7 separate regions of the Homo sapiens genome follow, and regions 1, 2, 3, 4, 6 and 7 are each linked to region 5. Evidence: promoter capture Hi-C in human tissues and cell types (Jung and others, 2019). All regions are on one chromosome and are shown on one strand. Each heading gives the region's core, a stretch centred on a gene start or on the middle of the fragment in contact. The rest is flanking DNA. Distances are from core to core; before and after follow the strand shown.

Region 1 (3,014 bases), core at 400-2,899, 490 kb after region 5:
GGACTTCCAAGAGGAAAAGTCCCAAGACCTTGTCTTTGAAAAAGCAGTAGCTCATGCCTGTAATCGTAGTGCTTTGGGAGGTCGAGACAGGAAGATTGCTTGAGCCCAGGAGTTGGAGACCAGCCCGAGTGACATAGGAAGACCATGTTTGCAAAAAACAAAAAAATTAGCCAGATGTGGTGCACACCTGTATTCCCAGCCCCTCGGAGGTTGAGGTGAGAGGGTGGCTTGAGCCCAGGAGTTCAAGGCTGCAGTGAGCTATGATCGTGTCACTACTCCAGCCAGGGTGACAGAGACCCTGTCTCTTAAAAAAGATTAAAAAAAAAAAAAAAGTCAAGTGCCTACCAGATGCCTAATTCTTTTTTTTTTTTTTTTTTTTTTTGAGACAGAGTCTCGCTCTGTTGCCCAGGCTAGAGTCAGTGGTGCAATCTTGGCTCATGGCAACCTTCGCCTCCTGGGATCAAGTGATTCTCCTGCCTCAGCCTCCTGAGGAGCTGGGATTATAGGCACCCGCCACCACACCCAGTAATTTTTGTATTTTTAGTGGAGATGGGGTTTCACCATGTTGGCCAGGCTGGTCTCAATCTCCTGACCTCAGGTGATCCACCCGCCTCGGCCTCCCAAAGTGCTGGGATTACAGGTGTGAGCCACTGTGCCTGGCCCTGATTTAGTTCCTTTCCTCCAAGGCTGGCTTCTACCTCTTCCCCACACAGTGACACTGTACCCCGACCAGACAAGCAAGTGTCTGCTTTCCCTTGGCTTCTTACAACTGGCTCTCTGGGCCATCTACAAAAAATTTTAAAAAATTAGTACAGCATGGTGGCACTACTGTCCTAGCTACTTGGGAGGCTGAGTTGGGAGGATTGATTGAGCCTGGGAGGTCGAGTGCAGTGAGTGATGATTGTGCCACTGCAGTCCAGCCTGGGTGACAGAGCGAGATCCTCTATCAAAAACAAATAAACAAAAAAGCACTTTGCAGAGGTGACTGAATGTTCTGGAACCCCTGGGCCATTGGAAATGGATATCTGTTGCTCCATCCTCCAGTTTACACCGTAGCCTCAGCTTGTGTCTCAGTGTGCCCCTCTCCCTCTGGTCTGTGCTCTCTCTCTTCCAGAGGCTGGGAAGGTTGTTCCAGGGCTGCAGCCTTGGACCTCAGAGGTCACATGTTGCGGGTTTGCCGTAGCTGACCACTCTCTAGCATGTGGATCAGTGGCTGTTAAATAGGATTTCTTTTGCGTGGCCTTACAACTTCCTCCTTCCAGTGCAGGCGTGTCAAGGTCCTTAACCTGCCGAGACTTCAGGTCAAGTTATTGCAAGTTCTGGGAAGACTCAGCTTCCCAGCTCCACCGCCTGAGCCCAAGGGATGCTCCATTTTATGCCTGTCACCCACGCCCTGTGACCCATGTCATGTGATCCCAGGGCTGCAGGGGTTCGGGGGAAGAGAATCCAGCCACGGCCCTGCCTTCTGGGGCCTGGCAGCTGGGACAGCAGTGGCGCAGCCTGAGCCTCTGCACAGCCTTCTGGGGTCCGGGCTTCTTCCCCATCACACCCTCCTAGTTGCCCTGGTGACTGTGTGACCCCTCTCCCCCCTCCACCGCCTGCTGCCACGGCCGGCCGTATAAATAGAGGCGAGGAGCAGCTGGGCTCTCTTGGCAGTCACCATGAGGGCGCTGGTCCTGCTCGGCTGCCTCCTGGCCTCGCTCCTGTTCTCAGGACAAGCAGGTAGGGCCCCTCCCAGCATGACCCAGCCCAGACTGGTCCCCCACGCTTCCTCCAAGGTTTTCTGTCTACCATGGGTTGGGTAGGGGGTCGGGGCTGATGGCAAACCCTGGCTCTTGGCTGGTGTCTTCTTACCCTTCTCTTTTCCCCGGGCCTGGGGCCTCAGAGAAAGAGCTGGGTGCTGGAGAATAGCAGCACAGTTGCGGGGCCCTCAGGAAGGCCAGAGGAAGTGGGAACGGCAAACAGAGCTGAGCTGTGAGCCAGGGTCAGAGAGGAGTCTGGCCAGTAGATGTGGGAAAGAGGGCCCTCAAAGTCGAGACGGGGGAGCCTCTGAGACGGACAAAATAGCACAGTCTGGGAGCTGGAGGTCGTTGAGGTGACCCTCCCACCTGGTGGGATATAAGGCGGAGGCCCCACTCGGGTAAGAGAACTGGGTTTGCGTGGACAGAAGGGGATACAGTGGGCAAAGGTGGGGACCGTTTTGGGAGCAGTGAGATAGAATTGGAATTGGTTTGGGATAAGATCGGAAATAGAGTTGGCGGTTGGGCTGGAAACAGCATTGGATGCAATTCAGAAGAGGAACGGGGCCCGTTCTGGAGTAGAGCCTCTGCTCGGGGTGGGGGCTTCCATCAGAAAAGGGGCTTGGCTCTGTGTGCTGAGGCTTCCCTTTGACATCTCAGCACTTTGGGTAGCAGAGGTGGTGGCTTGGGTTGCAGCATGGGGGTTATCTATAGGCTATGGAGGAGATGCCAGATTGTTTTGCCACCTCTCTTGTTCCTAAGGTTCCTGAGGCCAGGTTCCCCGAGGGAATGCTTTTAGGGAGGTGCTCCGGGGATCCCCCTAGGATCCGGACTGCCCACCGAGTCTTTTCATGACTCGGCAGTCTTCCCCCAAGCTGGGCTCTGAGCCTAGGTCCGTACCTGGGACTGGAGAGGCCCAGAGTCCAGCCTCTCAGGTCTTTGAGGTTGAATAGGGGGTTGCAGGGGCACAGTCCCTGCAGGGAGAGCAGGCAGTGGGTGGGAACAAAAGCTATTTCTCGGGGACTCAAGATGTAAGGTGGGGGGCTCCAGCCACTGCATGTGCTGCTGGGCCCTGCCCTTGTCTGTCCTTGAGTTAATTTGGGCTCTGCAGGGCTGCAGCGGCTTGAGTGCTGAGTATTCCAGGCGGCTGTCAGGCGGCTAAGTATGGAAACAGCCGCGTAATTGGATCCGGAGCCCCAAGCCGCTGCCACCCTCTCCCTTCGTGGCCGCTCCTGTGCTGCCCCCCAGCCCCAGCTGCTGGGCTGCTACACACTG
Region 2 (2,813 bases), core at 67-2,566, 320 kb after region 5:
AAATACAAAAATTAGGAGTAGTGGCGCACACCTGTAATCCCAGCTGCTTGGGAGGCTGAAGCAGGAGAATCGCTTGAACTCAGGAGGTGGAGGTTGCAGTGAGCTGAGATGACACCACTGCACTCCAGCCTGGGCAACAGAGTGAGACTCTGTCTCAAAACAAACAAACAAAAAGCCTTTTCAATAAACCACAAGTGACTTTGGTTCACAGTAAATACACTTCTGCCCGAACTAAGATAAAATGTAAGCATTGCTTTTCAAACCTTAGAAATGCAAGAATCAGCTGGGTGCGTTGGCTCATTCCTATAATCCCCACACTTTGGCAGGCCAAGTTGGGAGGACTGCTTGAGTCTCGTTCGAGACCAGCCTGACCATCATGGTGAAACCCCGTCTCTTACTAAAAATAAAAAATTAGTTGGGCGCGGTGGCAGGCGCCTGTAATCCCAGCTATTCGGGAGGCTGAGGCAAGAGAATTGCTTGAACCCGCGAGGCAGAGGGTGCAGTGAGCTGAGATCGCGCCACTGCACTCCAGCCTGGGTGACAGGGACTCCGTGTCAAATAAATGAATAAATACTAAAGAAAAATTAAAAGCTATTATTATTATTATTTTTAGAGGCAGGGTCTCTTTCTGTCTCCCAGGCTGGAGTGCAGTGGCACGGTCACAGATAACTGCAGCCTCGACCTCTTGGGCTCAAGGGATACTCCTGCCTCAGTCTCCCAAAGTTCGGGATTACAGACCTGAGCCACCGCGCCTGGCCGGATGCAGAGCGCCTGGCCGGATGCAGAGGCTTTTGAGTAGGCCCGGTGGACAGGGATTTGCTTTAGACCTGGGCCCCTGTTCCCCCTCTGCCTCTTACCACTGGTGTGACCTGGGGACCGACAGTTTACACTCTCCTTTAGCCGGGGGTTTCCTGTCTCTGAAATGGAGCTAATTTCTCCCCTCTCTACAGGAAGAGGTAGATAGTGCTGGAAGGCGTGCTAGGTACACCGCAAAGACTCCACAGCAAATCCTGCACACAAAATCGCGAATGCTGCAGCCGAGACCCCACGCAAGCAAGCACCGCAGGAGACGTGGGCTGACAGCTGCGCCCCACGTGACCTCCCACCCGCGCCAGTCCGTCCCCTCGGTATCAGGGCGTGGCCTCGCGGGGCGGCCGTACCTGGATTGGCCGGGAGGCGGGACCGGTGGTGCGCGCGCGAAAGGAGAGGGGCTTGGGGGCGTGGCCCAGGGGGCCGGAGACGGCTGCGATTGGCAGTGGGGCGCGCCGGGGGCGTGACCGCGGCATTGGGTCCCGGGTGGGGCCGAGGCAGCGGGAGTCGCGGTTGCTCAGCGTGCACCTGAGACCCGACGCCCGGGGTCCTCGAAGACGCGTCCGCCGCCGTGCCCGTCGCCATGAACCGCTTCAGGGTGTCCAAGTTCCGGCACACCGAGGCTCGGCCGCCCCGCCGCGAGGTGAGTCCGGCCCGAGGACCGGGCGCTGTCGCCTCGGGCCCCGTCCGGCTGCCCCTCCCCCTGCCCGGACCCCACAGGGGTGCCCTCCAGGGCCGTCTGGAACCCCGAGACCTCCATCCCCGGGGAACCCCCCTTCAGGCCAGGGCCCCGGCGTCCGGGCCGTTTCGTCGCCGCCGGAGGGCAGAGTCCGGCACTCCCGTGACTCGCTCTGGCGCTCGGTGACCCTGGCGGTCTGCCCGCCTCGCCCACCTCGCCCCGGGACCCCCGAGGCGGCGCAGCCCTCCTAGCCGGGGCCCAGGCCTGCGAGGCCGCCTGCCTTCCCAGCTTCCGGTCGGCCTCGCCGGGAGCCGGGGCTCGGGGCGCTGCCGGCGCCTGGCTCCTCCTCCCTGCCGCCCCGGGTCGCCCCTGCCCCTGGCTGGGCTGTGGGGAGACGCCCCTCTCTCCTCTGGCCCCGGCGAGCCCAAGTGTGTCAGTGGTGGGGAGGGAGCCCCTCGGCCGCACGCGCCCCTCCCTCGGGTTTCCGCCGGTGCTTCCTCCTCTCGCCGCTGGCGCAAGCTCTTTCTTTATCTCGGTGATGCTGCCACGGCTGGGTGGGGCCTGGGGAAGCCTGAGCAGGTGGAGCCCCAAAGAATTGCTGAGCCAGGTGCCGGGAGACCCTTCGGACCCCCGAAACGGCAGGAGGACTGATGAGGGGTGCGCCTTGGAAACGATGTCAGCTCTGCTCTTCCGCTTTCCGTGTTATTTGTAAGGCCTGGGAGTGTCCTCCGATAACTGGGCCTAGGAGTTGACCTCAAGTGACCCCATCAGGGTCCCAGAGCAAGTCAGGGCAGTCTGGGTAGAGGTTCCGTTTTTGTAGTGTGGACTATATTTCCTCTGCTTCCACTTTATGCTGTGCTAAGCTGCTGGAGACATCCCGGTGAACACAACGGCATTTTCCTTCCCCTGTGGCACTTGTAGCCTCATGAGGGAGACAGCAAGCAGACAAACAAGAGCATTGGAGGTTTTCATAACGACATTGAAGAACACACATGAGGGACTGGGATGGAGAATGGAGGGGGCCAGTCTCAGTAGCGTGGTCAGGAAAGGCTGCCTGGAGTAGATGGCATTTTAGCTGAGGCCAGAAGGGTGAGAATTGAGAAAGAGCCTGGTGGAGAAATGGAAAGTGAGCATGAGTGGATGGAGGGGATGGCCGGAGCAGTATGGTGACAGATGAGTCCAGAGTGGTCCTGCAGAACCCAAGGGCCACCGGAAGAAGTTGGGTTTTATTCTGATTGCAGTGCAGAGCCATTGAAAAGTTAGGGGGAGGGGCTGGATACCATGACTCACGGTAATCCCAGTACTTTGGGTGGACTGCTTTGAG
Region 3 (3,068 bases), core at 1-2,500, 270 kb after region 5:
GAGGCACCAACATCTGAATAAAGCCATTGTTCTCCCAGATGGCTTCCAGGAGAAGAGGACTCTGCTTCCAGGACTTGGGTTGGGGTGGTAGTTGTGTACCAACACAACAGTAAGTGGTTGGGGAGGGTCCGGGGCTGTACCAACACAGCAGTAAGTTGGAGCGGGGGGGGGGGGTCCAGGGCTGTACCAACACAGCAGTAAGTGAGGGGACCCGGGGTTGTACCAACACAGCAGTAAGGGGTGGCTCCAGGGCTGTACCAACACAGCAGTAAGGGAGGGTCCAAGGCTGAAGGGATCACTTGGTGACTGGGACGAGTGACCTAAACGTGTTTAGTCAGACAGGTGTGAAGTGGCCTGTTCTGACCTCAGCTAGCAGAACAGCTCTGACCAGCAGCCTCTGTTCCCACATTTGAAATTCATTCACAGACGGGGACATAGCACAGGACACAGAGGAGCCCCAGGAGCCGAGCTTCTGACACACCCCTTTCATCTCCAGAGCTAGTGAGGCCATCTGCACATGTGAACTGGAGACAGGCTCTGCAGGGAGGCGGGGGAGATATGGGCTTCTCCCTTTCTCTCCTCATCCTTGTCCTGGAAGGAGCCGGCCTTGGGGTACCATCCTGGACACAGGTGAACTTCAAACAGGTTGGAAAAAGGAAAATCGGATGTGGCAGAGCTGTGGTCCACAACGCACAGTAATTGGACACTGCTGGGAAGCAAAACTGAAGGAGAAACAACCCACCTTGCTTGCTGGGGTGGGTCACAGAGAAGAGGGTCAGAGGCCGAGAGACCAGTTATTTGCCTGAGAGTTTGTGGTCCATGGCAGCTCCGATTTTTTTTTTTTTTTTTTTTTTTGAGACGGAGTCTCCCTCTGTCACCCAGGCTGGGGTGCAGTGGCACGATCCCAGCTCACTGCAGCCTCCACCTCCTGGGTTCAAGTGATTCTCCTGCCTCAGCCTCCCGAGTAGCTGGGATTACAAGCATGCACCATCACGTCCAGCTAATTTTTGTATTTTTAGTAGAGACGGGGTTTCACCATATTGTCCAGGATGGTCTCGATCTCTTGACCTCGTGATCCGCCCGCCTCGGCCTTCCAAAGTGTTGGGATTACAGGCATAAGCCACCGCGCCTGGCCAATTTTTTTTTTTTTTTTTTTTTTTTTTAAAGAGTCAAGGTCTCGCTCTGTTGCCCAGGCTGGAGTGCAGTGGCACAGTCATAGCTCACTGCAGCCTTCACCTCCCAGGCTTAAGTGATCCTTCCACCTCAACCTCCTGAGTAGCTGGGATTATCGTACAGGTATGAGCCACTGAGCCCAGCAGTTCTGTGAATTTCAATTCAACACATTTAGGTTTGTGTGACTACCATCACAGTTTTTATTTTTTTACTTCCCCACCCTGGCTCTGGCACCCCCAGGCACAAAAATTCATTCTATCCATTGACTGAAGCATTTCTTTGACAATTTACCAGTATGCTGGGCCCTAAATACAATGTAGCAAAAAAAGTTATGCTGCCTGCCTTGAGGAGCTTATATTTAGTGGGAGAGCCTGATAGAAACACACAATAAATAGTTATGTATCTACGCCTGTAATTCCGGCACTTTGGGACGCTGAGGTGGAGGATGGCTTGAGTTCAGGAGTTCGAGACCAGCCTGGGCAACATAGCAAGACCCCATCTCTACCTAAAAAAAAGAAATACAAAAGAAACTAGGGCCAGGCGTGGTGGCTCATGCCTGTAATCCCAGCACTTTGGGAGGCCAAGGCAGGTGGATCAGTTGAGGTTGGGAGTTCGAAACCAACTTGGTCAACATGGCAAAACCCTGTCTCTACCAAAAAATACAAAAATTAGCTGGGCGTGGTGGCGTGTGCCGGCAGCTACTCAGGAGGCTGAGGCAGGAGAATCAGCTGAACCCAGGAGGTGGAGGTTGTGGTGAGCCGAGATTGTACCACTGCACTCCAGCCTGGGCGACAGAGGGAGACTCTGCCTCAAAAACAAAAAAACAGAAGAAATGGTGGCAGGCGTGGTGGCATGTGCCTGTACTCCCAGCTACTCAGGAAGCTGTGGTAGGAGGATCACTTGAGCCCAGGAGGTCAAGGCTGTGGTGAGCTGTGATTGCACCACCACAAGCCAGCCAGGGCAACAGAGTGAAAGCCTGTCTCAAAAACAAAACAAAACCCAAAAAACAAATTGACATAAGGGCTGCAAAAAACAAAACAGGAAGGATAAATAAATGGGGACAGGAGCAGCATCGGGGGAGGTGACCAGTAAGCTAAGGTCTGTGGATCATGCCCTTGGCCATATAACTATGGACCCACTTCGCCTTTTATGTTCCCCCCTGGCCCATTTGTGACCCTTGAAGAGTCATGAGAAATAAGCAGAACTTCTAGTTAAAAGATAAGACCTGCACAGTATTTATTAACAAGCAAGAGTGTGAAACAAGCCTCTTCCAGGAGCCGTGCAGCTGCCGTCCTCCACATCAGAGCCGGCTCTGCAGTGCTACAAACACAGAGGGGCAGGGGCAGCTGGAGGCCTGTGGGCCTGGAGAGAATTCTTGCACACTGTTTGGTTGACAGGGAAGGAAACAAAGGCCAGGCCACCAGAACCCAAAGGACTATGAGTGAGGAGGGGGCTCAGGTTGGAAACAACCCAGTCCCAGGCCTGAGGTGGGAATGGGGCTGAGGACCAATGCCTGAGAGCTGGCCTTGTCCACCCTCCTAATGTTTTTTTTGAGATGGAGTCTCACCCTGTCACCCAGGCTGGAATCCAGTGGCGCAATCCTGGCTCACTGCAACCTCCACCTCCAGGGTTCAAGCGGATCTCCTGCCTCAGCCTGCCGAGTAGCTCGGATTACAGGCGCCCACCACCAAGTCTGGCTAATTTTTGTATTTTTAGTAGAGACAGGGTTTCACCATGTTGGCTAGGCTGGTCTTGAACTCGTGACCTCATGATCCGCCCACCTTGGCCTCCCAAAGTGCTGGGATTACAGGTGTGAGCCACCACGCCCGGCCCACCCTCCTAATGTTTAAGCAAGTGCCAAACATGTACCTCCCACAGGCTCACAGGCCTAGAAA
Region 4 (2,872 bases), core at 61-2,560, 290 kb before region 5:
CATGCCCAGCATCCAGCTGTGTTTTATTTGGCTTACATAATTTTTAAAAAGTTAAAATATATCAGCAGCATCTAAAAATCAGTAACATTCACATTTTTTTAAACTTTTTTTTTTGAGACGGGGTCTCACTCTGTTGCCTAGGCTGGAGTGCAGTGGTGCGATCTCAGCTCACCACAACCTCCGCCTCCTGGGTTCAGGCAATTCTCCTGCCTCAGTCTCCTGAGTAGCTGGGATTACAGGTGCCCGGCTAATTTTCATATTTTTAGTAGAGACAGGATTTCGCCATGTTGGCCAGGCTGGTCTTGAACTCCTGACCTCAAGTGATACGCCCGCCTAAGCCTCACAAAGTGCTGGGATTGCAGGCATGAGCACCACGCCCAGCCTTAAAAACCTTTTTAATGGCTTCTCTTAAAATATCAGGCCAGGCGTGGTGGCTCACGCCTGTAATCCTAGCACTTTGGGAGGCCGAGGCAGGTGGATCACTTGAGGTCAGGAGTTCAAGACCAGCCTGGCCAACATGGTGAAACCTGGTCTCTACTGAAAATACGAAAATTAGCCAGGCGTGGTGATTCGAGCCTGTAGTCCCAGCTACTCGGGAGTCCAAGGCAGGGGAATCGTTTGAAGCCAGGAGGCGGAGATTGCAGTGAGCTGAGATCATGCCACTGCACTCCAGCCTGGATGACAGGGCGAGACTCTGTCTCAAAAAAAAAAAAAAAAAATCAGGAGATGGGGCAGCACGGACCTGCATTGTACGTCATGACTGCCTCTGCTGTTCCCTGCACATGTCTTAAATGTTGCCCCATCCCCACCTAGTCCATTTTGCTCATAACATTCCCTGTGTGGTCCCTGGAGGCACCTGATTTAGTGCTATCTATGCCGGGTAGAGGGAAGCCCCTCCAGTGCTACCCAAGCCCTGAGCCCACCCAGCAGTCCCCCACTTGGGGCTTCTCTCCTGTCTGCAGGACCGCCTGGCTAGCCCTCACCCTGGCGCTGGCCTTCCTCCTGCTGATCAGCACTGCAGCAAACCTGTCCTTGCTCCTGTCCAGAGCAGAGAGGAACCGGCGCCTGCATGGGGACTATGCATACCACCCGCTGCAGGAGATGAACGGGGAGCCTCTGGCCGCAGAGAAGGAGCAGCCAGGGGGCGCCCACAACCCCTTCAAGGACTGAAGCCTCAAGCTGCCCGGGGTGGCACGTCGCGAAAGCTTGTTTCCCCACGGTCTGGCTTCTGCAGGGGAAATTTCAAGGCCACTGGCGTGGACCATCTGGGTGTCCTCAGCCCCTGTGGGGCAGCCAAGTTCCTGATAGCACTTGTGCCTCAGCCCCTCACCTGGCCACCTGCCAGGGCACCTGCAACCCTAGCAATACCATGCTCGCTGGAGAGGCTCAGCTGCCTGCTTCTGGCCTGCCTGTGTCTGCTGCCGAGAAGCCCGTGCCCCCGGGAGGGCTGCCGCACTGCCAAAGAGTCTCCCTCCTCCTGGGGAAGGGGCTGCCAACGAACCAGACTCAGTGACCACGTCATGACAGAACAGCACATCCTGGCCAGCACCCCTGGCTGGAGTGGGTTAAAGGGACGAGTCTGCCTTCCTGGCTGTGACACGGGACCCCTTTTCTACAGACCTCATCACTGGATTTGCCAACTAGAATTCGATTTCCTGTCATAGGAAGCTCCTTGGAAGAAGGGATGGGGGGATGAGATCATGTTTACAGACCTGTTTTGTCATCCTGCTGCCAAGAAGTTTTTTAATCACTTGAATAAATTGATATAATAAAAGGAGCCACCAGGTGGTGTGTGGATTCTGAATCATGGACTTAGGTCACTGCTAGGGCTTAGCAGGTGTGGCTTATCCTGAAACAGAAGTCACAACGGCATCCTGGAGCCAAGTCCTGTTCCCTGCTTGTTTAATCCAGTGCTTATCAAACTTTAATATGCCACAGGTCACGAGGAGATCTTGTTAAAATGCAGATTTGGGCCTGGGGTGAGGCCAGCAATTCTGCGTTTCCAACAAGCTCTCTGACGATGCTGATGCTTCAGGTCCCCAGACCACACTTCTTGTCTTTCTTAGAAACAGGGTCTCGCTCTGTTGCCCTGGCTGGAGTGCAATGGCACGATCTCGGCTCACTGCAATTTTGACCTCCTGGGCTCAAGTGATTCTCCCACCTCAGTCTCTCAAGTAGCTGGGACTATAGGCACATGCCACCATGCCCAGCTAATTTTTAAAATTTTTTTTGCAGAGAAGGGGTGTCACTGAGTTGCCCAGGCTGGTCTCAAGCTCCTGGCCTCAAGTCAACCTCCTGCCATGGCCTCCCAAAGTGCTGAGATTACAGGTTCGAGCCACTGCGCCTGGCCCCTGACCATAATTTGAATGACCAGGGCTTAGTTTTTCCTCACAGTATTTTTATAGAATTTAAATTAGTTACCCATGTTTAAAAGTCAAGAGATTTTAAAATAAATAAGGGCGGGGGTGCAGTGGCTCACGCCTGTAATCCCAGCACTTTGGGAGGCTGAGGTGGGCGGATCACCTGAGGTCAGGAGTTCGAGACTAGCCTGGCCAACATGGCAAAACCCCGTCTCTACTAAAAATACAAAACAGGCATGGTGGTGGGAGCCTGTAATCCAGTTACTCAGGAGGCTGAGGCAGGAGAATCGCTTGAACCCGGAAGGTGGAGGTTGCAGTGAACTGAGATCGCACCGCTGCACTCCAGCCTGGGCAACAGAGCAAGACTCCATCTCAAAAAGTCCAGAGATTGACAAAAATTCCAGCTTGCTGGTTTCTCTTTAAAGATCTGGCAGCCCTGGTGGGCGCCTGCACAAGTCACCAGGCCAGCTCAGATTCAGGGAGAAGGGAAACGGGCTCTGCCTCTTAAAAAG
Region 5 (2,806 bases), core at 184-2,683:
TTACAGGCATGTGCCATCGCGCCTGGCTGACAGTTTGGAGTCACTAAGTGATTTTTTTTTTTTTTTGGAGTCACTACTCTGACCAGCCCCTGCATTTATATCTTAGAGTCTTAAAGGAGATGGTCCTGTTATTCAGGGGGCTGGGGAGCTTGAGCTTGAGAGCTGGGGGGTGAGGGTCCTCTAGAGCCAGTGTCAGGAGAACTCTGCAGCTCGAGAGGCCGCTGTGGCTTTGGCCCTGCAGTCAGTGCCCGTTCATCCCCAATCAGGGCAGCGGCAGGAGATGTGAATTGGGGGCTGCTTGCTTCCTCTGTACTTCTGGGAATAGGGCAGGTGCTTGGTGCACTCTGAACTGGGAGCAGCGGGTTGGGGACGCATCTGGTGCACACAGCCAGCGGGTGTTTTTTGTAACTAGAGCTCTGTTCCGCAATTCAGGGCACAGTATTTCTTAGGGCAACAGAATCGTCGGGATGAAGAGGGCCTCCAGAGACTCTGATAAACCCTTCAGGCGGACAAGACAATAGGGGAGGGAACGGCATTACCGGCAGAAGGAAGAGCATGTACAGTAGCTCAAAGGAATGAACCGCCCAACAGGTTTAAGGGAAGAAAGTGTCAGTTGCTGGACTCTCCGGTGAAAACGGACCAGACAATGCAGGGCCCTGAACGCCAAGTTGAGGAGCTCAGAGCATCCAGAAGGCGAAGGGGAGGCTCGGAGCCGCCTCTGAATAACGGCCTTCCGGCTCCGTCTCGGGGTGGGTTTCTCAGCTGCAGCCTGTTAGCCCCGCCACAGCCCCGCCCCGGTTCTCAGAGCCCCGCCCCCAGCCGGCCTGCCACGAGGCTGCCGGTTGTTATGGCAACCAGACGCCAACAGCCTCCCGGGTCGAGCTTTTAAATTTTAAAGCTGTGGAAGTGGAAAGCCCATCGCTCCTCCTCTCACCCACCCCCAGCCCGTATTTCCCCGCGTTTTGTTCAACTCCCTGCAGGCGCAGCAGGCCCGAGGCCCCTCACCTCAGGCCTCTGCCTCCACTCCCCGCGCTGTCCTGACAGCGCTATAAACAGCCTCCAGCGCGTCACTCCGCTCGCGTCCGCCCCTCGGGCCGCGCCGCAGGTACAGAGGCTGTCCCCTTCTTCAGCACTCTCCCTCTCAGCGGAGCTTTACATTACTAGACTGCCTCCGCCTTCCCCCCACCCCGCCCAGCTCCTCTTTCGGGCCTTTGCGCGTCCTGCCTCTCCTGCAATGGGATTGGTTCCCCTGGAGGGCGGGGACGGAGCAGGACAAACACCACTAGCTCATTGGCTACCGCGGGCATCAGACAGCGAGCCGGGAAGCTGACCGGAAGGTCCGGGTGCGGGACGTGTGCATTCCACGGCGCCCGGGAGCTGTCCCGGTGCCGACCCGCGAGCTTCCCGGCGTGCTCCGCGCCCTCCCGCAACTACTTCCGGGGCGGGTGCCGGGGGCGGTGCCCCGGCGAGGGAGCGTGGCGGCGAGCTGTTTGGGGGGGGTTGGCGACGGCAGCCCGAGGGCGGCGCAAGGCCTGAGGCCCAGCACAGGTGGGTTCCGCGGCGGCCCGGCCCCAGCACTTGCCGGCACCTGCAGCCCGCCTAGACCCGGCGCTCGGGCGTCCCGCGCTGCACTTGCTCGCCGCGTGACTGGAGGACCGAGCCCCCACATTTTCTTTATGTGGTTGTGGTGGGGGCACAGTAATGCCCTGTGCGCCGTAGCGTTCCTGTGGGGATGTGGCCGGGGGGCGTCGGGAAGCGTCACTGCTGTGAGTTACGGGTTTGTCGGCCAGGGACCCGCCCCGGGGCCAGTGAGCTACCTTTGCGATGCGGTTCCACGGGGCGAGAGGGGGTGCCTGGGTGCTTTCACAGACCTCCTCTGTGGGCGTGACAGTTACCACCAGCATCACATTTGTTAAGATTTTTAAAAATTTTTTAATTTTTGTGGGTACGTAGTAGGTGTATATATTTATGGCGTATATGAGAGATTTTGATACAGGCATGCAGTTCGTAATAATCACATGTAAAATGGGGGTCTCCATCCCTTCAAGCATTTATCCTTTGTGTTACAAACAATATGATTATACTCTTTGAATTATTTTTAAATGTGCAGCCGGGCGCGGTGGCTCACTCACGCCTGTAATCCTAGCACTTTGGGAGGCAAAGGCGGGCGGATCACCTGAAGTCAAGGATTTGAGACCAGCCTGGCCAACATGGGGACACTTCGTCTCTACTAAACATACGAAAACTAGGCTGGCATGGTGGCTCATACCTGTAATCTCAGCTACTCGGGAAGCTGAGGCAGGAGAATCGCTTGAACCCAGGAGGCGGAGGTTGCATTGAGCCGAGATCACGCCGCTGCACTCTAGCCTGGGTAACAGAGTGAGATTATGTCTCAAAAAAAATAATAATAAATAAATAAAATGTGCAATTAGATTATATTGACTATAGTCACCCTGTTGTGCGGTCAAATACTAGATCTTTTTTTTTTTTTTTTTTTTTTTGAGACGGAGTCTCGCTTTGTCGCCCAGGCTGGAGTGCAGTGGCTTGATCAAATACTAGATCTTATTCATTCTGTTTTTTTTGTATCCATTAAGCATCCCCACCCTCCACTACCCTTCCCAGCCTTGGTTACACTAGAAGTAACCATCCTTCTACTTTCTATGTCCATGAGTTCAGTTGTTTTGATTTTTAGATAACCACAAATAATTGAGAACATGCAATATTTATCTTTCTGTGCCTGGCTTATTTCACTAAACATAACGATCTCCGCTTCCATCCATGTTTTTGCAAATGATAGGATCTCATT
Region 6 (3,086 bases), core at 419-2,918, 270 kb before region 5:
CAAGTGCAAGATCCGTGTTTGCATTATTTTTAAACCCTTATTATTTTTGAGAATCCATTTGTAAAAGCCACTTTACAGGCTGGGAACAGAGGCTGACGCCTGTAATCCCAACCCTTTGGAAGGCCAAGGTGGGAGGATCACTTCAGCCCAGGAGTTTTAGACCAGCCTGAGCAACAGGGTGAGACCTCATCTCTGCAAAAAAAAAAATTAGCTGGGCAAGGTGGTGCACATTTATAGTCCCCGCTGCTTGGGAGGCTGAGGTGGGAGGACTGCTTGAGCCCAGCAGGTCAAGGCCGCAGTGAGCTGTGATTGCACCACTGCACTCCAGCTTGGGTGACAGAGTGAGAGCCTGTCTCAAAGGAAAAAAAAAAGCCACTTTACAGAAGAGGAAGCTGCTGCTCAGAAAGGTTTGCTGCCTTTGGGGGCGATGCCACCGTAAGTACTGGCTCCGGGAAACAGTTCAGGAACAGAAATGCGGGGGAGTCAGAGGACAGTGGGTTCCTGCAGAGGACACTGGGTTCCTGGATGTGCCATGACAGAGCCAAGGGAGAACTCGTGGTGGAGAGCTGATCTCAAAAAGCAAAGTCAGGCTGTGAGTGGTGGCTCACGCCTGTAATCCCAGCACTTTGGGAGGCCGAGGCAGGCGGATCACGAGGTCAGGAGACCGAGACCATTCTGGCTAACACAGTGAAACCCTGTCTCTACTAAAAATACAAAAAAATTAGTCAGGCGTGGTGGCGGGTGCCTGTAGTCCCAGCTACTCTGGAGGCTGAGGCAGGAGAATCGCTTGAACCCGGAAGGCAGAGCTTGCAGTGAACTGAGATTGCACCGCTGCACTCCAGCCTGGGCGACAGAGCGAGACTCCGTTTCAAAAAAGAAAAAAAAAAAAAAAAAAAGCAAAGTCAAGGAGACTGTTGAGTGGAGTGGGAGGATAAAGTCTTCGAGCTAGAAGCCAGACAGGACCCCAGGTTCAAATCCAGCTCTGTCCTGACCGGCTCACAAGCTTCGATGGGGGCCACCATTCTGAATCTCAGTTTCCCCATGCATAGAAAACGGGGATGCTTACGGGCCCTGCCTCAAGGCCCAGAAGACCACTGTAGAAACTGGGGGAGAATGAAGCCCCTGGCACGCTGCCCAGCCCAGCACATATGCACAGTGGACCCCTCTCCACCCTCCGTCTTTGCTGTTTAGGGGGGATTTGTGCCCAGCCCAGGTGTTTGCCTGATGGGACGGCCCAGCTGCCTTGTGCTCCCCTCACACCGCTTCTGTCCTTCCTCGTTGACGGAGAGAACCTGGAAGGGAGAGACAGTGCTGCTCAACGTCCGCCTCGCTGCTTTACCCCACACAGTCCTTCCCAGGCCCGGCCCCAGGCACGGCGTCCAGGAACGAGGCCCCTGACTCACATGCCGCAGCAGCGCCTCCTCCCCCACGGCCTTCATCAAGCCTTTGGTGTCCATCTGGCCCAGGCGGAGGATGTAGAGGGGGCGGCCATCTTTGTGGATGGGGCCAAGCAGAAAGAAGAGCCCGTTATTTAGAGGACTGCTTCCGAGGGGCAGGTCACAGCTGCAGGTGAGAGCTTCACCTCCTCAGGCTGCAACCCACCAAGGCCCGATCCAGCCTTCACTTACTAACACCCTGCCTGCTTCCAAGAGGGGCTGACGCCCCTTATTGTGAAAGGCAGAAAAACAGAAGTGTTACAATGAGGATAAGGGCCAGCACAGTGGCTCACACCTATTACCCCAGCATTTTGGGGGGCAGAGGCAGGAGGATTGCTTGAACACAGGAGTTTTGAGACCAGCCTGGGCAACATAATGAGACCTCTTCTCTACAAAACATTTTTATTTATGTATTTATTTGAGACAGAGTCTTGCTCTGTCACCCAGGCTGGAGTGCAGTGGTGCGATCTCGGCTCACTGTAACCTCGGCCTCCCAGGTTCAAGCAATTTTCCTGCCTCAGCCTCCCGAGTAGCTGGGATTACAGGCGCCCACCACCGCACCCGGCTAATTTTCGTATTTTTAGTAGAAATGGGGTTTCACCATCTTGGCCAGGCTGGTCTCAAACTCCTGACCTCAGGTGTACACCCACCTCAGCCTCCCAAAGTGTTGGGATCACAGGCATGAGCCACCGCAGCTGGCCCCATAATACTTTTTGTCAACCAATCAATATATAACCTTGTTTTATGTGGTGTTTTTTGTCTGTTGGTTTGTTAGTTGGTTGATTTGTTGGTTTTTGAGACAGAGTCTCACTGTATCACCCAGGCTGGAGTTCAGTGGAGCAATCTCAGCTCACTGCAACCTCTGCCTCCCAGGTTCAAGCGATTCTCACACCTCGGCCTCCCAGGTAGCTGGGACTACCGGCATGCACCACCACGCTTGGCTAATTTTTGGTATTTTTAGTAGAGACAGGGTTTCACAATGTTGGCCAGGCTGGTCTCGAACCCCTGGCCTCAAGTGATCTGCCGCCTCGGCCTTCCAAAATGCTGGGATTACAGACGTGAGCCCACCATGCCTGGCCTCTTTGTTCTTTGAGGCAGGGTTTCACTCTGTCACCCAGGCTGGAGTGCAGTGGCATGATCTCGACTCACTGCAGCCTGAACCTCCCCAGCTTAAACAATCCTCCCACCTCAGCCTCCCAAGTAGCTGGGACCACAGGCATGCAGCACCATGCCCAGATAATTTTTTTGTATTTTTTGTGGAGATGTGGTGGAGGGGGGCGAGCTCACTATGTTGCCCAGGCTGGTCTCGAACTCCTGGGCTTAAGCGATCCTCCAGCTTTGGCTTCCCAGAGAGCTCTGATTACAGGTGTGAGCCACTGCGCCCGGCTTGTGTTTCTGTTTAAGGACACTTGAATGCATATTGCTGATCTGTCAGCATTGAACTCACGGCCAGCAGCCCTGTAGCTGGTGCCTGCCTGAAGCTAGTGGAGCACTTTGGGTGTTTTCTGCATGGAGCACGTGGCCACTTGCTCATCCTTAGGAAAGCTAGGCGCAATTCTGCACTACACGAAGAGGCATTTTAAACAGCAAAGTCACCAAAGAAAAGCCCAAAAATGCAACAATGTGGCATTAAATAGGCCACAAAAAGGA
Region 7 (2,779 bases), core at 280-2,779, 350 kb before region 5:
ACAAAATAAAAAAATTACTGGCATGGTGGCACGCACCTGTCATCCCAGCTACTCAGGAAGTGGGAGGATTGCTAGAGCCCAGGAGTCGAGGCTGTAGTGAGCAATGACTGTGCCACTGCACTCCAGCCTGGGTGACAGAACAAGATCATATCTCAAAACAAAAAAAAAGAATCATTCTGGCTAACGGCTCTTCAGACATCTGTGCTTATGAGAACAGCAGCCCCTTCTAAGCTGTGTGTGTGTGTGGGTGTGTGTGTGGTGCGTGTGGTTTTTTTTTTTTTTTTTTGAGACTTAGTCTCACCCTGTCACTCAGGCTGGAGTGCAGTGGCACAATCTCAGCTCACTGCAACCTCCACCTCCTGGGTTCAAGCAATTCTCCCACCTCAGCCTCCCAAGTAGCTGGGATTACAGGCACTCGCCATCATGCCTGGCTAATTTCTGTATTTTTGTAGAGATGGGATTTCACCATGTTGGCCAGGCTGGTCTCGAACTCCTGACCTCAAGTGATCCGCCCGCCTTGGCCTCCCAAAGTGTTGGGATTACAGGCATGAGCCACTGTGCCCGGCCGCTTTCTAAGCTTTGTGAAGAGTGGGTTGACTATTCAGATCTCTGCTTCTGTCCCGCTGTGCCAAGTGCTGGGGCAGACACAGGCAGAGAGTGGACAGCGGCACGGTGCCTGCTGCTAGCCATTTCTATGCAAAACCAGCTTTCTGGTCCCATCCTGGAGGCCAATTCTAGGCACCTGGGTGGGCCTGGGAACCTGTGAACCAAGTAAACTGACTTGGACACCCCCCTACCCCGCCAGGCCTGTCCTAGCAGCCCCACACAATACCCTCATGTCCTGTCCCCAAACACCGCCATCCTCAAACACATGTGCTCTGTTTCCAGGCCGGGCCGGGATCAGATGGGAAGTGGAACCTCGTCATGAGCAGAAACTGTTTCCCTACGAAGAGCACTTGGAGATGGCAATGCTGAATCTCACCCTGTAGGACTCACACACGACTCCAACGGGATTGTGAGAATCAAGTCACTCTCATGGGAAGAATTTTTATATGGGAAAGCGGATAAAACTTTCATTGGACTGGAATGTTTGGAGAATGTTAATTTCCAAATCAGGAACCACAAACTGCCCTCTAATAAGACATCGGCTATCTAAGCGTGTGGGTGCCCCCTTTCTGCCAGCAGTTCTGGTTCTTAAGAAAATCACCATAAATCAGACATGAAAATTCTGGCTCCAAAAATAGCATTTTCTTTGTGCAAATAAAAACGTGTGTATCAAGTATGATGTTCCCCCAACGTGGACACACTCAGTTCCTCACAAAGCCAAGCCCACTGCAGCTGCCACATCCCTGGGCTTACGGTGCAGCAGGTGCTTTTTTCAAGACAGGAATCAAAATGTTAGGAACACGGCAGAAAGGGGACACCTGGAGACCAAACGCAGGATGAGGAGTTCTGCAGAGGTCACAGGGAAGTCACAGAACAGTAATACGCTAGCAGGGGCATGGGGCGTGAAGAACAGAAGAAGAGAGGAAGCGTTTCCAAGCCTCCAGAGAAGAAATCAAGGCCAACCAAAGCTTCCCGGGTCACAGAACCAATTCTTTTACCAGGCAGTACCACTGCTGTCATTTCAGCTTCTGGCCACTGGGAGGTGCTGCTCGAAAGGGTTTGCCCTGAGACTCCAAGAAGAAGCTGCGGGAAGGACAGCAGGGGTCCTGGGGTTTTAGCCTCTGGCCCAGGAGTTATGTGTCCATAACCAAAGGGAGCACAGTCTGCACCCAGCTCTCATCCCATCGGAGCTGCTGCGACTCCCGCAGGTTCTTCCGGAACTGGTTTAGCTTGCCCGCAGGATCAGGAAAGTTTGAGAAAAGCATCTGCAAAAAAATAAAGAGCAGAGCTTACCTCATTGCCTGTCCCCACCCCATCCCAGGTCACCACCTGGCTGACCCCAGGTCCCCGACCCAACAACAACCCCTCCCAAGTCCCTAACTCCCTCACTTGGACTCGAGACCCTTCACACCCCAGCAGCACTCCGCCTCCAACTTGACATCACAGTTTCTGGAAACTTCCCCGCATGTCCCACTTTCCCACACTTGGTGCCCTGGAGCACCTCCCGGCCTCTACGTGCTGCCCATTCCCCTGTGAGCACCCTCCTCTCGGCCTCTGGCCAACGCAGTCTCACCCATCTGTGGGTAACAAGGGGGTGTCGGTGTTCTTTGCAGCCTTGCTAAACTGTCTGAATCAAGGATCACAAACTACAGCCTGCAGGCCAAATCCAGCCCACAGCCTGTGTTTGTAAATAAAGTTTTATTGGAACAAAGCCACACCCCTTAATCTACAGATGATCTGTGGCTACTTTCACACCCCAACAGAGTACCATGGTTCTGACAGAGACTGGGGAACCCAGTCTAAACGACTTCCGACCTGGACCTTTACTGAAAATCCTGCCAATCATTCTGTTGGCAAGAATGATGTATTACTTTTTGCAATAAGAAACAAGTAACCTTTGCAGAATTCCACCCATCTTTCAAGGCTGGTCCCAGAAGCTCCCTTTGCCCGCCCACCTACGTGATCCTGATCACTTCCTCAACCGCAGCCCGGCCCACCCAGCTCCAGCATCATTTGTGGAGTGTCAGCTCCATAAATCCAGAGGGCAGGTGGGGGTGTGTCTTAACTTTCCCGAGCCTACTGTACCGAAACGGGACAGCAGAGTGGGCCAGCCTCTGTGACCTCTGCTCCCTCCCTAGCTTTTCCGCCAGACCCCACATGGTCCCACCCTGGC

Evidence for each region. The method cuts DNA at HindIII sites, captures the fragments that hold promoters and counts their contacts. A contact is called where the count stands out against the background at its distance.
Region 1: the fragment with the promoter of SRL here is called in contact with the fragment with the promoter of ANKS3 in region 5 in 1 of the 25 tissues and cell types used here (spleen).
Region 2: a contact is called between the fragment with the promoter of CORO7 here and the fragment with the promoter of ANKS3 in region 5, in 1 of the 25 tissues and cell types used here (dorsolateral prefrontal cortex).
Region 3: a fragment that was not itself captured here is called in contact with the fragment with the promoter of ANKS3 in region 5 in 1 of the 25 tissues and cell types used here (mesendoderm cells).
Region 4: a fragment that was not itself captured here is called in contact with the fragment with the promoter of ANKS3 in region 5 in 1 of the 25 tissues and cell types used here (dorsolateral prefrontal cortex).
Region 6: a fragment that was not itself captured here is called in contact with the fragment with the promoter of ANKS3 in region 5 in 1 of the 25 tissues and cell types used here (dorsolateral prefrontal cortex).
Region 7: a fragment that was not itself captured here is called in contact with the fragment with the promoter of ANKS3 in region 5 in 1 of the 25 tissues and cell types used here (dorsolateral prefrontal cortex).

The regions. Positions count from the first base shown.
Region 1 is chr16:4,240,715-4,243,728 of GRCh38, reverse strand. It overlaps SRL (sarcalumenin), which reads left to right and starts at 1,649. Exons shown (of 6, transcript NM_001098814.2): 1 at 1,649-1,722. The coding sequence starts at 1,662. The HindIII fragment of the contact is 19,223 bases long and covers 1-3,014 here.
Region 2 is chr16:4,415,099-4,417,911 of GRCh38, reverse strand. It overlaps CORO7 (coronin 7), which reads left to right and starts at 1,316. Exons shown (of 28, transcript NM_024535.5): 1 at 1,316-1,453. The coding sequence starts at 1,394. CORO7-PAM16 (CORO7-PAM16 readthrough) reads left to right here and starts at 1,316. Exons shown (of 31, transcript NM_001201479.2): 1 at 1,316-1,453. The coding sequence starts at 1,394. LOC124903635 (a long non-coding RNA gene) reads left to right here. Exons shown (of 3, transcript XR_007064963.1): 3 at 951-1,187. The HindIII fragment of the contact is 38,450 bases long and covers 1-2,813 here.
Region 3 is chr16:4,458,663-4,461,730 of GRCh38, reverse strand. It overlaps NMRAL1 (NmrA like redox sensor 1), which reads left to right. Exons shown (of 6, transcript NM_020677.6): 6 at 1-37. Among named protein-coding and RNA genes, the nearest start is that of NMRAL1, 14 kb to the left of the region's middle. RefSeq lists a silencer at 1,996-2,196. The HindIII fragment of the contact is 5,078 bases long and covers 1-3,068 here.
Region 4 is chr16:5,023,776-5,026,647 of GRCh38, reverse strand. It overlaps NAGPA (N-acetylglucosamine-1-phosphodiester alpha-N-acetylglucosaminidase), which reads left to right. Exons shown (of 10, transcript NM_016256.4): 10 at 963-1,804. The coding sequence ends at 1,170. Among named protein-coding and RNA genes, the nearest start is that of NAGPA-AS1, 8.5 kb to the left of the region's middle. RefSeq lists a silencer at 946-1,240. The HindIII fragment of the contact is 7,059 bases long and covers 1-2,872 here.
Region 5 is chr16:4,732,898-4,735,703 of GRCh38, reverse strand. It overlaps ANKS3 (ankyrin repeat and sterile alpha motif domain containing 3), which reads left to right and starts at 1,433. Exons shown (of 18, transcript NM_133450.4): 1 at 1,433-1,766. DNAAF8 (dynein axonemal assembly factor 8) reads right to left here and starts at 1,167. Exons shown (of 10, transcript NM_139170.3): 1 at 1,006-1,167. RefSeq lists silencers at 1,308-1,537, 1,588-1,647. The HindIII fragment of the contact is 29,621 bases long and covers 1-2,806 here.
Region 6 is chr16:4,999,061-5,002,146 of GRCh38, reverse strand. SEC14L5 (SEC14 like lipid binding 5) reads right to left here. Exons shown (of 16, transcript NM_014692.2): 9 at 1,404-1,492; 10 at 1,222-1,292. Among named protein-coding and RNA genes, the nearest start is that of NAGPA-AS1, 33 kb to the left of the region's middle. RefSeq lists a silencer at 729-920. The HindIII fragment of the contact is 4,501 bases long and covers 1-3,086 here.
Region 7 is chr16:5,083,842-5,086,620 of GRCh38, reverse strand. ALG1 (ALG1 chitobiosyldiphosphodolichol beta-mannosyltransferase) reads right to left here. Exons shown (of 13, transcript NM_019109.5): 13 at 1-1,871. The coding sequence ends at 1,740. It overlaps EEF2KMT (eukaryotic elongation factor 2 lysine methyltransferase), which reads left to right. Exons shown (of 8, transcript NM_201400.4): 8 at 889-2,337. The coding sequence ends at 989. Among named protein-coding and RNA genes, the nearest start is that of EEF2KMT, 13 kb to the left of the region's middle. RefSeq lists an enhancer at 1,481-2,393. The HindIII fragment of the contact is 5,127 bases long and covers 1-2,779 here.